Linked DNA regions of Homo sapiens: region 2 is linked to region 1. Evidence: promoter capture Hi-C in 16 types of primary human blood cells and fetal thymus (Javierre and others, 2016). All regions are on one chromosome and are shown on one strand. The core of a region is centred on a gene start or on the middle of the fragment in contact, and the rest is flanking DNA. Distances in the headings are between cores, read along the strand shown.

Evidence for each region. Contacts are between HindIII fragments. The CHiCAGO score rates a contact against its expected background, and 5 or more counts as called.
Region 2: a contact is called between a fragment that was not itself captured here and the fragment with the promoter of MB21D2 in region 1, in 1 of 17 cell types (monocytes). The highest score is 5.1, in monocytes.

Annotation. Positions count from the first base shown.
Region 1 is chr3:192,914,100-192,920,648 of GRCh38, reverse strand. It overlaps MB21D2 (Mab-21 domain containing 2), which reads left to right and starts at 2,793. Exons shown (of 2, transcript NM_178496.4): 1 at 2,793-3,019. The coding sequence starts at 2,809. RefSeq lists a silencer at 2,488-2,847 and enhancers at 3,498-3,827, 5,455-5,955. The HindIII fragment of the contact is 3,892 bases long and covers 1,029-4,920 here.
Region 2 is chr3:193,485,448-193,491,996 of GRCh38, reverse strand. ATP13A4 (ATPase 13A4) reads left to right here. Exons shown (of 30, transcript NM_032279.4): 6 at 599-668; 7 at 2,133-2,267. Among named protein-coding and RNA genes, the nearest start is that of ATP13A4-AS1, 64 kb to the left of the region's middle. The HindIII fragment of the contact is 4,520 bases long and covers 1,239-5,758 here.

The DNA of each region.
Region 1 (6,549 bases), core at 1,544-4,043:
GGAATGACTGCCTCAGCCAGCTGTCGCACAGGTGCCTGCCATTGATCACTAGTGAAGCACTGACAGATGGGAGTGGATCACTTTGTGCTGGAGTTCCAAACACTTATGTGGCTTCTAGTACTGCCCAGGTAATGTTAATATCCTCTCAGGATGAGAAGTCAGGGCAGCATAGCAGAGCTGCGAAAGCCAGAGCTTGCTTTGTTTGTTTGTTTGTTTGTTTGTTTGGAGATGGAGTCTCACTCTGTCACCCAGGGTGGAGTACAGTGGCGCGATCTCGGCTCACTGCAACTTCCGCCTCCTGGGTTCAAGCAATTCTCCTGCCTCAGCCTCCCAAGTAGCTGGGACTACAGGTGCACGCCGCCACAACTGGCTAATTTTTTGTATGTTTAGTAGAGATGGGATTTCATCGTGTTACCCAGGCTGGTCTCGAACTCCTGAGCTCAGGCAATCTGCCCGCCTCGGCCTCCAAAGTACTGGGATTAGAGGCGTGAACCACCACGCCCTGCCTAAAAACCAGAGTTTTTAAGTCACTTCCTCATCAGTCCACCAGCATTTATCTAGGCATGGATCCTCTCTCTTTCATACTGAGTGGGTGAGGAAGTGTGTTTCAAAGAGAAGGAAACGAAAAGTAAGAGAAATTAACTGGTTATGCCACAATTCTTCACTCATTACTTGATTCAATAAACATAGAGGACCCTTCGGTAGGACCATATGCTGCAGGAAATACAAAGATGAATAAGATGTAGCCCTCATCCCCAAGAATCTTTTAGTCTAAAACTTGCATTAACAATGATGAAGTGGTCAGGTGTGGTGGCTCACGCCTGTAATCCCTTTGAGAGATCTAGATGCAAGGACTGTTTAATCCCAGGAGGTTGAGGTTGCTGTGAGCCACGATTGTGCCACTGCACTCTGGCCTGGGCTACAGAGGAAGACCCTGTTTCAGAAACAAACAAACACACACACACACAACCCAAAACAAAAAGCAATGATGAAGCAAGGTCAAAATTCATTAGCATCATATGAAAGCTTCTGAGAGTAGGTTCTGAGGAAGGAAAAGTTGCCACCAGCTTGAGGGGAGGGTCTCCGGAAAGCTGTAAGAAAAAGGCAGACGCGGATTGGTTTTGGTGTAAACGGAGTAAAGAAGAGAGGAATTCCAGGGGGAGGTCAGTGGTCAGGTCTGTGTTTTCTAAAGATCACTCTGGCAACAAGTTGTTACTAGATTGAGGAACAGTGAAAGAATTAATAACAATAATAGTAGAAGCTGATAATAGCTAAGTACTTATTATGTCAGTCCTTGAACTAAGTGCTTGACCTGTTTTATCTCACGTAATCCTTAAAACAACCTGTGAGACAGGAATTATTATTCCCATTTTATAGGGGAAGGCATGGAAGAGTCCGTACTTCCTTCCATGTCTAACAAAACAATTTGTATTCTTGGCCATGAGAACTCGGGTAAGAAAGTGAAACAGACCTGATCTAAATCAGGGACTGTGGGATAGAGAAGAGAGATTTTGGAGAATTAGGGAGGAAGATAACCTATGTTTCTCACAGCCAATGGGCCTCCTAAGTGTTTGAATGATACACCCCATAAACACTAAAACCACCTCTGAGACTCTATTCTGCCTAAAGGACTATGACTTAGATTGAACCTGCCTTGTCATGTAAGCCTAACTCCATGGTAGGAGCCATGTCTTTTGGTTATCACTGTCACATTCTGTCACTCCATCTGGCAAATGGTGCGTACTCAAATTTTATCTGTTGAATGAGAAAATTTTCATCTTGTCATCCAACATTTCTTGGAACCTGGGGCAATACATTGTTTCCCCTCTCCCACACCCACACTTCAGTTTCCCTATCTTTATATTAGAGTAGGTTGAATCTCATTAACTCATTATATGTTAAGATAAATAAGCTGTTATTCAGGTCATTAATTACCTTGGGCAAAGGTAGGGATATCTAGGGGTTAGTGGGAGTGCCAATACTGGGTTAGATGTGGACCCTCTTTTTTTATACGCTCAATCCTATCATCTTGGCAATCCAAGAGGAAAAGGGTAGAAGACAGGTTTCATATTCCTTAAGGCAGTTTCCTTTACTATTTAAAGGTATTGGAGTTCTTGGGATAGAGAGGTAAACGCGCACAGAGATGTCCTCCCCCAGGACACCGCCCTTAAAATCAAACGGAGGAAGACTTTCTTCTCCTTGAATGCGCTTGGCAAACCCTGCCCAGAAAGGGGATGGGGGGACGGCCGTGGAGGTGGAGAAAGAATGCATCCACACCTCGCGCGTCTTCCCAAGTACGGATTGGCAAGTGGTATATGCGTGCAGACCTCTGTCATTTATTTATTTTCCTTTCCACTGGGTGCGCTGTCCCTTTAAATGGAGACGCTGGTGCTGGCTCCGTAACACCGGAGCCGGCAGCTTGTTGATTTCAGAGCTGGTGAATTTCACATTGTTTCCACTTCACTTTCCTCGCCCGGGGGAGGCTCCAGTTGGCTCTACGACCGCCGTTGCCGCTGCCAGAGAGGGCCAGGGCAGGGCAGGGACGCGCAGCATCGGGGCGGGCGTGGGGCCGGAGAAAAGGGTGTCGGGGCCACACACGCACCCTCGCTGCAGTCCAGCTCCTCCCGAAGCTCGCACGCCCAGAGCGCACGGAGCGGGGGACTGCCCGCCCAGACGCCCGCCCGCCAACCCGCCCACGAGCCGGGGCCAAAGCCTGGGAGCCTGCGAGGGGAGGAGGCCCAGGGGGGCGGGGTGGGGGGCGGGGGTGGGTGCCGCGCTGCCGCGGAGCTGCTACTCGGCGCGTTTTGCATGAAGATGGCGGCTCCCACCGCCAACAAGGCAGCCTCCCTGGGCTGTAACAACAAGCCTGCGTTCCCGGAGCTGGATTTCAGGTCGGGAGCTCGGGTGGAGGAATTGAACAAACTCATCCAAGAATTTACGAAGCACGACCAGCGGGAATACGACGACCAGAGAGCGCTGGAGATTCACACAGCCAAGGATTTCATCTTTTCCATGCTGGGTAAGGAGGAAAAAGGGGGAGGTGTGTGTGCGTGTGTGTGTGTGATGGGAAGCGGAGTAGAAAACCCATTGCCGCTTCTCGACCTCTTCCCTTCTGGGTTGCCTTCCCGAGCCGGTGCCTTGGGTATAAGCCATCTCTGTTCCGCCTCTCTCTTCTTTCTCCGCCGAAAGCCGAGCTGCCTGCCCTCCCCTCCTTACTATACTTTACGCCGGGTCTCCCTTTCCCCCTGTTCGCTTGCTCTTTTGTTAATTTCTCCGCCACCTGGGGCTGGCAGGCAGGTGAGGCGTTCGCGGTGAAGCGTTGCACTGTTGGGGGAAGCCCCTGGAAGCGAGTGCAGTCCAGGTGAGCCCCTGAGGTGCCTTCAGTTGAGGGATTTGGCTGCCGGAGGCAGGGACCTCCGCTTTCCCGACGCCGGCTCTTGGGTGCTCTCCCGAGCTTGGGAGCGGAGACGGCTCAGGGCTCTGGCTTGGCGCCCGAGCGACAAGTTGCTTCTGTCGTCTCGCGGCGCGGCGCTGTCATGCCGAGCCCCCGGTGGCCAAACTTGTTGGGTGTTCCCGAGTAACCCGCTGAAGTAGTCTAGGCGTCCGGAGTTCCTGCAACTTTGATTTGCAAATTGACTTCTCTTATGAAGCGATCGGAAGCATTTCCGGTGCTTCTTCAGGGCTCTCGCTGAGCTCGGAATTCTTAATTCCCAGCTCTTCCGTGACTAGGCGCGGAGCTCTGGCCGCAGAGGAGCGCCGGTTCCCTGCTCTTTGTGTATTGTCTTAGCGCTGGCCGAAAGAGGTGCCCAGAGTTTCCAACCGCGGAGACGTCGGGGGCTAGAAAATGTGTCCCCCACTCCCACCTCCAGCCCCTCACCTACGGCTCCTGAAACATGATTGAATGCTGTGTAAAGGAACATAATTGAGCCAGGCCCGGGAGACCGAGCCCACCCTCCCCAGGTGTCCTGCCGTTGGGATTATTGCTACTGAGGTGTAGTGTGAGTTTGCCAGGCGCCTGGGTTGTAACTTGCGGCTCCGCCAGCGGATCCGTGGCTGTCAAGCGGTGCGTGGCCGGCGGTCAACATTCCGAAGAACTGGTACTCCAGGGTAGCGCTGCTCTAACGCTCGTCTCTGGGTGCTCTCTACAAATAGATAAGCCAATTTTCCAGGTGTTGAAAAATTTGATTGGGAAAGGTCTTTTGGCCACAGACTAAGACAGGGCTTTTCTCTTTCTCCTGCAATCTAATTGGGTTTCAGCCGGCTGTTGCTGCTTCTATCCTGGGATACCTTCTTCCTTCTAGGTTTTCTTCTTCCTCACTGCCCAAGGACGGGGTAATACAGACTGAACGTGTCTGTGTCCGCTGGTAGTTGTTCACGCGTTGGGAAGTTAGATGAAACATGTTAAAACTCTAGGCTGGTTTTTACCTTTTGCGCCGCACTCTTCAAGTGTGTCTTACGTTGCGTATGAGGTTGAAAAACTATTGAGAGATTCAGCCGTTCAACTATGTAGATGAATAGATGAATTAAATATATATATATATATATATATAAAACCTGGTAGGAGTGAGCTTCCACAGGGAAGCCTAAAATGCTTACAAAGCCAAAAGCCAACACAGTGATTGTCAGGAAGGTGGGGCCACACACAGAAGGCTGAGCGCAGTTACTTAAGTTGTTTAGTTAATCATAGCCTTTCTCTGTGGCATAAATAATGGAAGTCTGCCATTGTGTTAATACAGCCCCCAGATCAGTTCTGATGTCACTTGCGTAGGTCATTTACTAGAAGAAGGTACTGGGTCACCACCAGTTAGGGTAGTCATGGGTCAGGAAATGGGATAATGTAGGGAGGGTAAATTTAAGTGCCTGGCTCATGAGGAACTTCTGTGCTTAACTCCAAAGCTGATACACTGAATCAGCAAAGCTTTTATCCAAATATAAAAAAGTAAATTATTCTAGGGTGCTTAATTTTTGCATGTGTTTAATGCCATGGGTGGCATTGTGTTGACAGGTAAACTAGATTTGCTTCTATTCCTTTTTACCCAGTTGACCTTGCAAGCAGTCTTTCTTGCCCCCTGGGAATTTAGCATTTCCACCTGCAGGAGAGAAGATTCAAGAGAGTGTCATTTAAGCCTTTTGCCCCTCTGGACACTAGAAGGCAGATGGCGAAATGAGCTTGCTTGCCTGTGTGTGGTGCTGCATTCATTTGCGAGTTCCTTGCTTTCCTTTAATGAGATGCTGGCTGCTCTACACAAGTGGAGGTTTGGCGACAGCAAGGGTTCCTATGTGGATTTACTTTTTCTAAAGCAGATTTTGGCTTGGCTTAAAGAACAAAATCATTTTTTTTATACACTTTGTTTCACTTGCCATAGCTTTGGTTCTTTGATGACTATGCAAATGAAGTCTCTTAATGACCCCTAGCTTGTTAAGGTGTTACTTGGGTGGTACCAGGCCCTCATTTCAGGGCGGGGGGGTGGAGGGTGGCCAGTCCTCTTGGCTTTGTTCTGTATCTGAGCTGCACCTGGGGATTGTTAGCAGCTTACAGATATTATCCCCTCACACAGAATGAAGTGGCCAACCACGAATTGGGTGCAAGCCTCTTTAGTGGAGCTGAGAAAAATACTGCCTCATGTTTCAGGCAGTTGGCAGGGGTGAGGCATGTTACTCTCTTTTTGTGTAAGATTGTTAGCCAAGTCTGAAGCCCCTCCAGCTTCACAGATCCTTTTCATTTTGTCTAGTTTGGAGGAATTTTACACTGAAGAGCAAGGAGGTGGTAGACAGCTGTCATAATCAATGACCTGTCAACACCAAGACACTCCACTGTCTTATCAAAGTAGGGTTCTGCACAGGCTGTGGGGTTGATCTGAGCTTGCTGGTGGTCACTGTGGTCTCTGGGGTCTGTCCTGATGCTCTCTGTTTGTACAGAGATTCTGATTTTTTTTTGGAGGCAGGTGTTAGCTGCAATTGTCTAGATTCACTTCTTATTCCTCTGTACCTTGGTCTTTTAGGAGAATGATTGGTGTTATTATCTAGTTAATATTTGAGAGCCCAGACTGTGCGAAAGGCTGGCAGTGCATAATAAACACCATTTATCAAAATTCAGGGAAATTGCCAGAGTTCATTAATGTTTTAATAATATTTGGTATTAGCATAATGTCTCTGCCAGCTCTTTTGTTATCTTCATTCCCTGGTGAGGTTCGATAGAGACTGGTTTGTGTCCCCATTGAACAGATGCAGAAAAGGGGGTATGCAGATGCTGGAGAAGGCAGGAAAGAAACAAGCCGTCACCTAACCTACAGACCAAGTGGTCGGTACCATGGCATGATTTTTACGGTAGTTAATCATTTACTAATCATCTTCTCAGGGCCAGGAACTTCACATAGACTTTTGAGGAGGTATTGCTTTCCCATTACATAGATGAAGATATTGAAATTTAGTGGGGTGAAGAAAGTGGATATCCAGGGTCACAAAGCTAATAGATGGTAGAGATGCTACTGAAACTCAGGTCAGCCTTACTCTAAAACATGTTCCTCTTCTCCTACTTGAGACTATTAA
Region 2 (6,549 bases), core at 2,249-4,748, 570 kb before region 1:
AGTAACATAACTCATAAAATGTCTTTCCTCTGCATAATCAAAGAAACACATCTCTGGGTTTTAGAGACACTGAATCAAAAAGCTGAATAATTATGTGTGTAGAGCTATTTTTGAGATCACAGAGCCTTTCCACTCACATTAAAATACATTCTGAAGTTTTCCAGAACTTCTAAATAGGGGTAGGAAAGTAGAAACAGCATTTCCTTATCAATAAAAGTAATTTCTCTTAACTACCTCACTGTCTTACAGTAATAAAACCGGAATTGAGGAGAGACAGAGTTGGGAACATGCCAATCCTGAAAGTACTTGAATGAGACAATATTTAATATTAAATACCCAAAATACCATTTAGGAAAATATTTAGACCTTGGAAAGAGTATGCTTCTAGAAGCAATATGGTCATATTTATCGTTTTTGCAACTGGGAACCCTCACCTCCCATTATTTTGAGAAGGATCAGAATGGTATTTAACAAGGGAGACTTATGTTGGTCTCACAAGTGAGAAAGTGAACATGGAATAGACCTTTTTCTGAATAGGTGAGGAGTCAGTTTTAATTTTATTATTTGTGACAGAGTGATCTGTGATTTCTTTCTATAGGAGGTTAATATGTGGGCCTAATACTATCGATGTTGAAGTTACACCAATTTGGAAACTGCTCATCAAGGAGGTAATTTCTCCAGCATTTTCTCTTGGTGTTGGACAGAAAATAAGGAAGTTTGGCTCTAGTGAAATAATCAGGAGTGCTAATTGTTAATAAGTAACTTCACATAGAGTATATTTTGAAAGTATGCCAAGCATATTATCCTCATATCTCTTGCTTACTCTTTTTCTTCAAGTGGTTCTTTTGCACATTGCCTTATGCAATATAGGGTGTGAAACTCATTGTACTTATTTACCATTTAATGGCTGGATGAATATAATGTTTCTTTTCTTTTTTAATACTATGCTGCTTAACTTGTTTTAACTTCATGAAACTCAATTTTTTTTAAGCTAATCCTTTTGTTAGGTAACAGATACAATTTCCTTGGTGCCTAAAATTGTAGGAAGAAAAAAACCATTTATTCAGCCTTCTCAGTACTGCTGATCTCAAGGTATAAGATGAAATTTTCCTTTTGGACCCCATCACTGAGCTCATCATTGTTTCACTTTACAGCGATTATTATCAAACCGTAGCCCTCTAGCTGTCCTCTGGCTTCCCTGTGCTCTCTCTCGACTCCTCCTTGCCTTAAAACAAGCTTACTAAACTTCAGGTACTTTCAAAATATTTCCAACAAGCCGTCAAGCATGAAAGAAAGTAAAACAAACCAATAGGGAATGTTTCTGTGTGCTGCCTTTCTAACCAGAAGAAAGGTTTGCCATTCCTGTTTTAGAGAGAGGGAAACCAGCTAGGGGGAATTTAAGTAAAGGCACAGCATGTTTTTGACCAAAGCAGAATTAAAGCTGTTGAAGTTCACAGCTACTCTCTCGCACAGTGTTCTAGATGCTCTATTACAGCTTACTGCTTTCAGCACAGCTCTCTACTTATGAGAACATGCAGTCTTCAACTCACCCATTAATCAAGTTCCTTAATGACTTCAAATATGGCAGGTGTTATATCATAGAGAAGAAGAGACTAGAAAGTATTTTAACTTTATAAACCTGAACTAATACTTCACCTTTCTGAAGGCCAGTAAATGTAGACAGGAGGTGACAACATCTACTCCTTAAATAACTATTGTGATGGCCGACATGTCAATACATGAGACACTACTTTGTAAATTATAAAGTGAGGCAGTGATTAAAAGTAAGTGCTCTGGGGTCAGATTGCCTGTGTTTAAGTCTTGGGTCTGTGGCAATCATAGTCGCATGACTTTGGACGTATTTCTCAAGCTCTAAGTTTCAGTTTCTTTATCATTACAAAGGAGATAAGTAACAACTTCTGGTTAATAAGGTAACTGTGGGAATTCAATGAGAAAATTCAAGTAAAGTTGCTTAGAGCGGTGTCTGGCACGTGTCAATTGCCGAATAAATATAATAAGAATATTGTGTGGGATGATGTATGTCATGAAGATGATTATGAAAACAAGTAAATGAAGAGCAGAGTGAAGCCTAAAACTCTCCCTTGTCTTCCTGTTTTTATGTCTGCCAACAGGTTCTAAATCCATTTTATATATTTCAACTCTTCAGTGTCTGTTTGTGGTTTAGTGAAGACTATAAGGAATATGCTTTTGCCATCATAATCATGTCCATAATTTCCATATCTTTGACAGTATATGATCTCAGAGAGGTGAGTTTTTCTATTAATTCTATGGTTTCATAAAGGGAAGGATAATGACTTTATTAAAAATTTGTTAGAAAGGAGAATCAGGAAATAGTCACTTCCTACTCCGTAGTAAATGAGAGCAAGTTTGTAAATACCTAGCACAGTAACCAGTGTTCAACAATTTAGTCCTTTCCCTTTCCTCCCATTCCAATCCCTAACCTTTGTAGTTATTTTTCCTCCCTCTTTAATTTACTCAAGACTAATTAGCCAGAACAACATCCAAAGGTTTATGAATTGTGAATATGTGAAAAAATTTATGTAGAGAATACTGATGGGACTTGAGGATGGTGGCAGAGAGCTGGAAGGTGGAGGAGTCTATTTAATATGAACTCCTTTGCTGTTTATGTTTGGCTGGTACTCATTTGTCAAGGCCCCAGTCCAACTCCTGACTTTCTTTATGCCTACACCAGGTTTCTAGATACTGTTGGAAAAAAAAAATTACATAGAACAGATTGGTTGGTTGCACTATAAATCCGTGAATGCCAACCTCATCCGGACAAGGCTTCTGTTCATCTCTAATCAAGGTGCTCTTCTGTTCTCTGAAATTAAGGTTTCAAGCCATCTCTGTCCTCTGGTGTCTGAGACGCCCATCTTCTCATATTCCACTCTTTCTTTAATTCAGCAGATATCACTATTTCACAAAAAAAGATGGAAGCCATAAGACAGAAAATTGCCCAACTCCCCACTTTCCGAGTGCCAAATGACTCATCTCCGCAGCCCCCTCCTTCCCTGAACTCTCATTCCAGTGAAGGAAGTGCCCTTCGCCAGTGCTTGAGAGACCATCCACTCCCACCTTCCTGGGGTGCTTGTGCAGTCCATGAATGACTCCTCTCTTCTCTCCTCAAGAGCCTTCCCATCAACTTTTAACATTCTCAAGTTCTCCCAACTTAAAAACAAAACTCAAACAAACAAAACAATTTCTTCTCTTGACCGTGCTTCTGCCTTCAGCTACTACTATATCACTCTTCTTCCATTCACAGTAAAACTTCTAGAGTCTTTGTGTCTGTTATCATTACTTACTCATCTTCCTCTTACTTTTCACTCATGCCGACATGTCTTCCTCCCTCATGACTCCATTTAAACAAATCTTGTTAAGGTTGCCACTGTGATCCCAAAGCCCATAGATCATTTTAAAATTTAAAAAGTTCTTTTAAAATTAGCTGTTTTTTTCCTTAACAGAAAGGGCAATATATGGCTATGATAAAAATAAAATTCAAACCGAACAAAAGAGTGTGAATAAAAATTAAGGCTCCCTCCCGCTGGGAAAACTTCCCAGTGTTCAGGTCCTGTTTCAAGATACATCCACTAGGACCATATTTTCTGTATACTTTTAGTTATATTAAATGCATATGCATTAATTTGTTTAACAGAATGAATATATTCTATGTGTACTGTTCTGCACTTGAATTTTATTTATTTATTTATTTTTGAGATGGAGTTTTGCTTTTGTCACCCAGACTGGAGTGCAATGGTGTGATCTTGGCTCACTGCAACCTCTGCCTCCTAGGTTCAAGCAATTCTCCTGCCTCAGCCGCCTAAGTAGCTGGGATTACAGGCATGTGCCACCACACCCGGCTAATTTTTGTATTTTTAGTCGAGACGGTGTTTCACCATGTTGGTCTGGATGGTGTTGATCTCCTGACCTCCAGTGATCCACCCACCTCAGCCTCCCAAAGTGCTGGGATTACAGGCGTGAGCCACCGTGCCCAGCCTCCACTTGAACTTGAACCTATTATATCCTAAATATCTTTCTGCATCTGCACAAATACATTTTCTCTAGATGTACCGTAATTTTTAACCAGTCCAATGTTGATATGTATTTGGTTGTTTCTAGTCTTTTGCTACTAAGACAATGCTGCAAGAACATCCTTGCACATATATCTTTTCATGCATCTATATATACATATACATATGCACACATATTACATACCTATACATATGTATATAACAAGTATGTATGCTTATAAATATCTGTATTGATATAGAGATAGAAAATTTCTGCAATTGAAATTACCTAGTCATAAGCTAGGCACACTATTTTAAACATATTGTCAAAATGCCTCTTTAAAAAGTAATACTGGCCAGGTGTGGAGGCTCACACCTGTAATCCCAGAATTTTGGGAGGCTGAAGTGGCAGGATAGCTTAGACCCAGCAGTTCAAACCAGCCTGAGCAACATAGTGAGACCTCGTCTCTCTATGTATATAAAAAAGTAATACCAGTTTACATTCCTTACAACAGTAGATAAGTGTTTTTCTTATCTTTGCCAATATAAGTGAAAATAGAATTCAGTAACTCTAATCACGTTTTCCATTACGAGTTGAGCATTTCTTCACACTTTAAGCCATTTGCATTTCTTTGACTGGGAACTGTTTGAGTCCTTTATTAATTTTTATTAGGTCTTGGTGTTTTGCTTACTAATGTTATGGTCCCCCTGCAGTGGATATTTTTTTTTCCCCAGTACCGATATCGCTAAACCTCTCAGTTGGATTTGACACGGTTAACTGCTCCATTCTTTCTGAAGCACTCTTTTCCCTGGCTTCAGGGACAACACACTCTCCATCCTCTCCAGTTGCTCTTTTCCGTTCTCTTTTGATAGCTCATCCTTCTCTATCTGACTTTTAAAAAATGAGTGTTCCAAAGTCAAAACAACATGAAAATGCATTTAATGTAAAGGCTCCATTTTTCTCTCCCACTCCACTTGGCCGACTGCTTACATTAGTTTCTTGTGTAATCTTCCAAAAAAGTTTTTAGGCAAATGAAGCAAATATATGTACTTTCTTTTTTTCTTATGTAAGTGGTAGCATAATTACATTATTTTCTAACTTGCTATTTAAAAAATTACTATTAATATATCTTGAGGATCTTTTCATGTAAGTGCATAAAAGATTCTTCATTATTTTTATAGCTGTACATGCCAATGACTTCTAAAGGCATATGCTAATAGCTTTCAAATTTGTATATGTATCTCAAATCCAGATACCTCTTTTCAGTTGCAGACTCATAGCTTCAACAACCTATTTGATATCCCCACCTTAATATCAAAAAATTACCTTAAATTCAACACTTTTGACATAAAACTCAAGAACTCTTCTCCTCAAATCTGCACTTAGGTTTATCTGATGTGGTAGCAGATACTGCTGACCATTCTGTTGCACAAGCCAGAAATCTGGTTGCCAACCTTGAAACTTTCTCTCTTCTTCCCCTTCAACTACACAGAAAGTCCTTTGATTTTTATTTCCTAAATATCCCCTGGCATCCTTCACTGTTTTCCACCCTACCACTATTACGGTTCAAGTTAGCATAATTTTCTACCTTGCAATCACCTCCCATCTGGCCTCCATACATCATTCTTGCAGAATATGATTATTTACATGCTTTTATCACTAAAATGCTTCAAAATATTCCCATTGGTCTTACAATAAACTTCTAAATCTCATCGCAGACTTTAAAGCTTTCCCTGGAGGTTCACAAACTTTTTAGTTTCTAGAGCTCTTTAAACTCTTAAAAATCACTGAGGATCTCTAAGAGTTTTTAATCTTTTAAACATTTGGTATTTACCAAATTAAGAATTAAAACTCAGAATCATAAAATATTTATTAATTAATTTAAAATAATAATAACATATTTATATATACATATATATTTAAAGACAACTGTATTTTCTGAAATAAAAATAATTTAGCAGGAGAATGGCATTATTTTACATTTTTGCAATCTCTTTTATGTTTGGTTTAATAGAAGACAATTGGATTTTCTTTTTTTTTTTTGGCTTATAAGCAACAGAATTTATTTCTTTAGTTATGGAGGCTGGAAAGTTCAAGATCAAGACACCAGCAGATTCAGTGTCTGGTGAGATCTCTCTTCTGGGTTCAGAGATGGTACCTTCCTATTGCATCCTCACATGGTGAAAGAGACAAGGCGTCTCTCCTGGGTCTCTTCTATAAGGGCACTGAAATTATTCATGACCTAATCACCTTTCAAAGGCCCCTTCTCCTAATATCATCATCTTGGGGGCTAGGATTTCAACATAGGAATTTTGGGTCACATTCAGACTGTGGCAGTCTTTTAAAAAATTTCTATGTCAATTGATTTTAATACTTTGATAATCGTATTTCTTTTTTTATTTCCGACAATTGGATTTTCATAACTGCTTCTGCATTTAGTCTCTTGTGATATTAAACACCACTCAGCCTCTGGACGTCTCCACTGTACACTTGTGCGAGAATAAGATGCTAAAAGGCAAT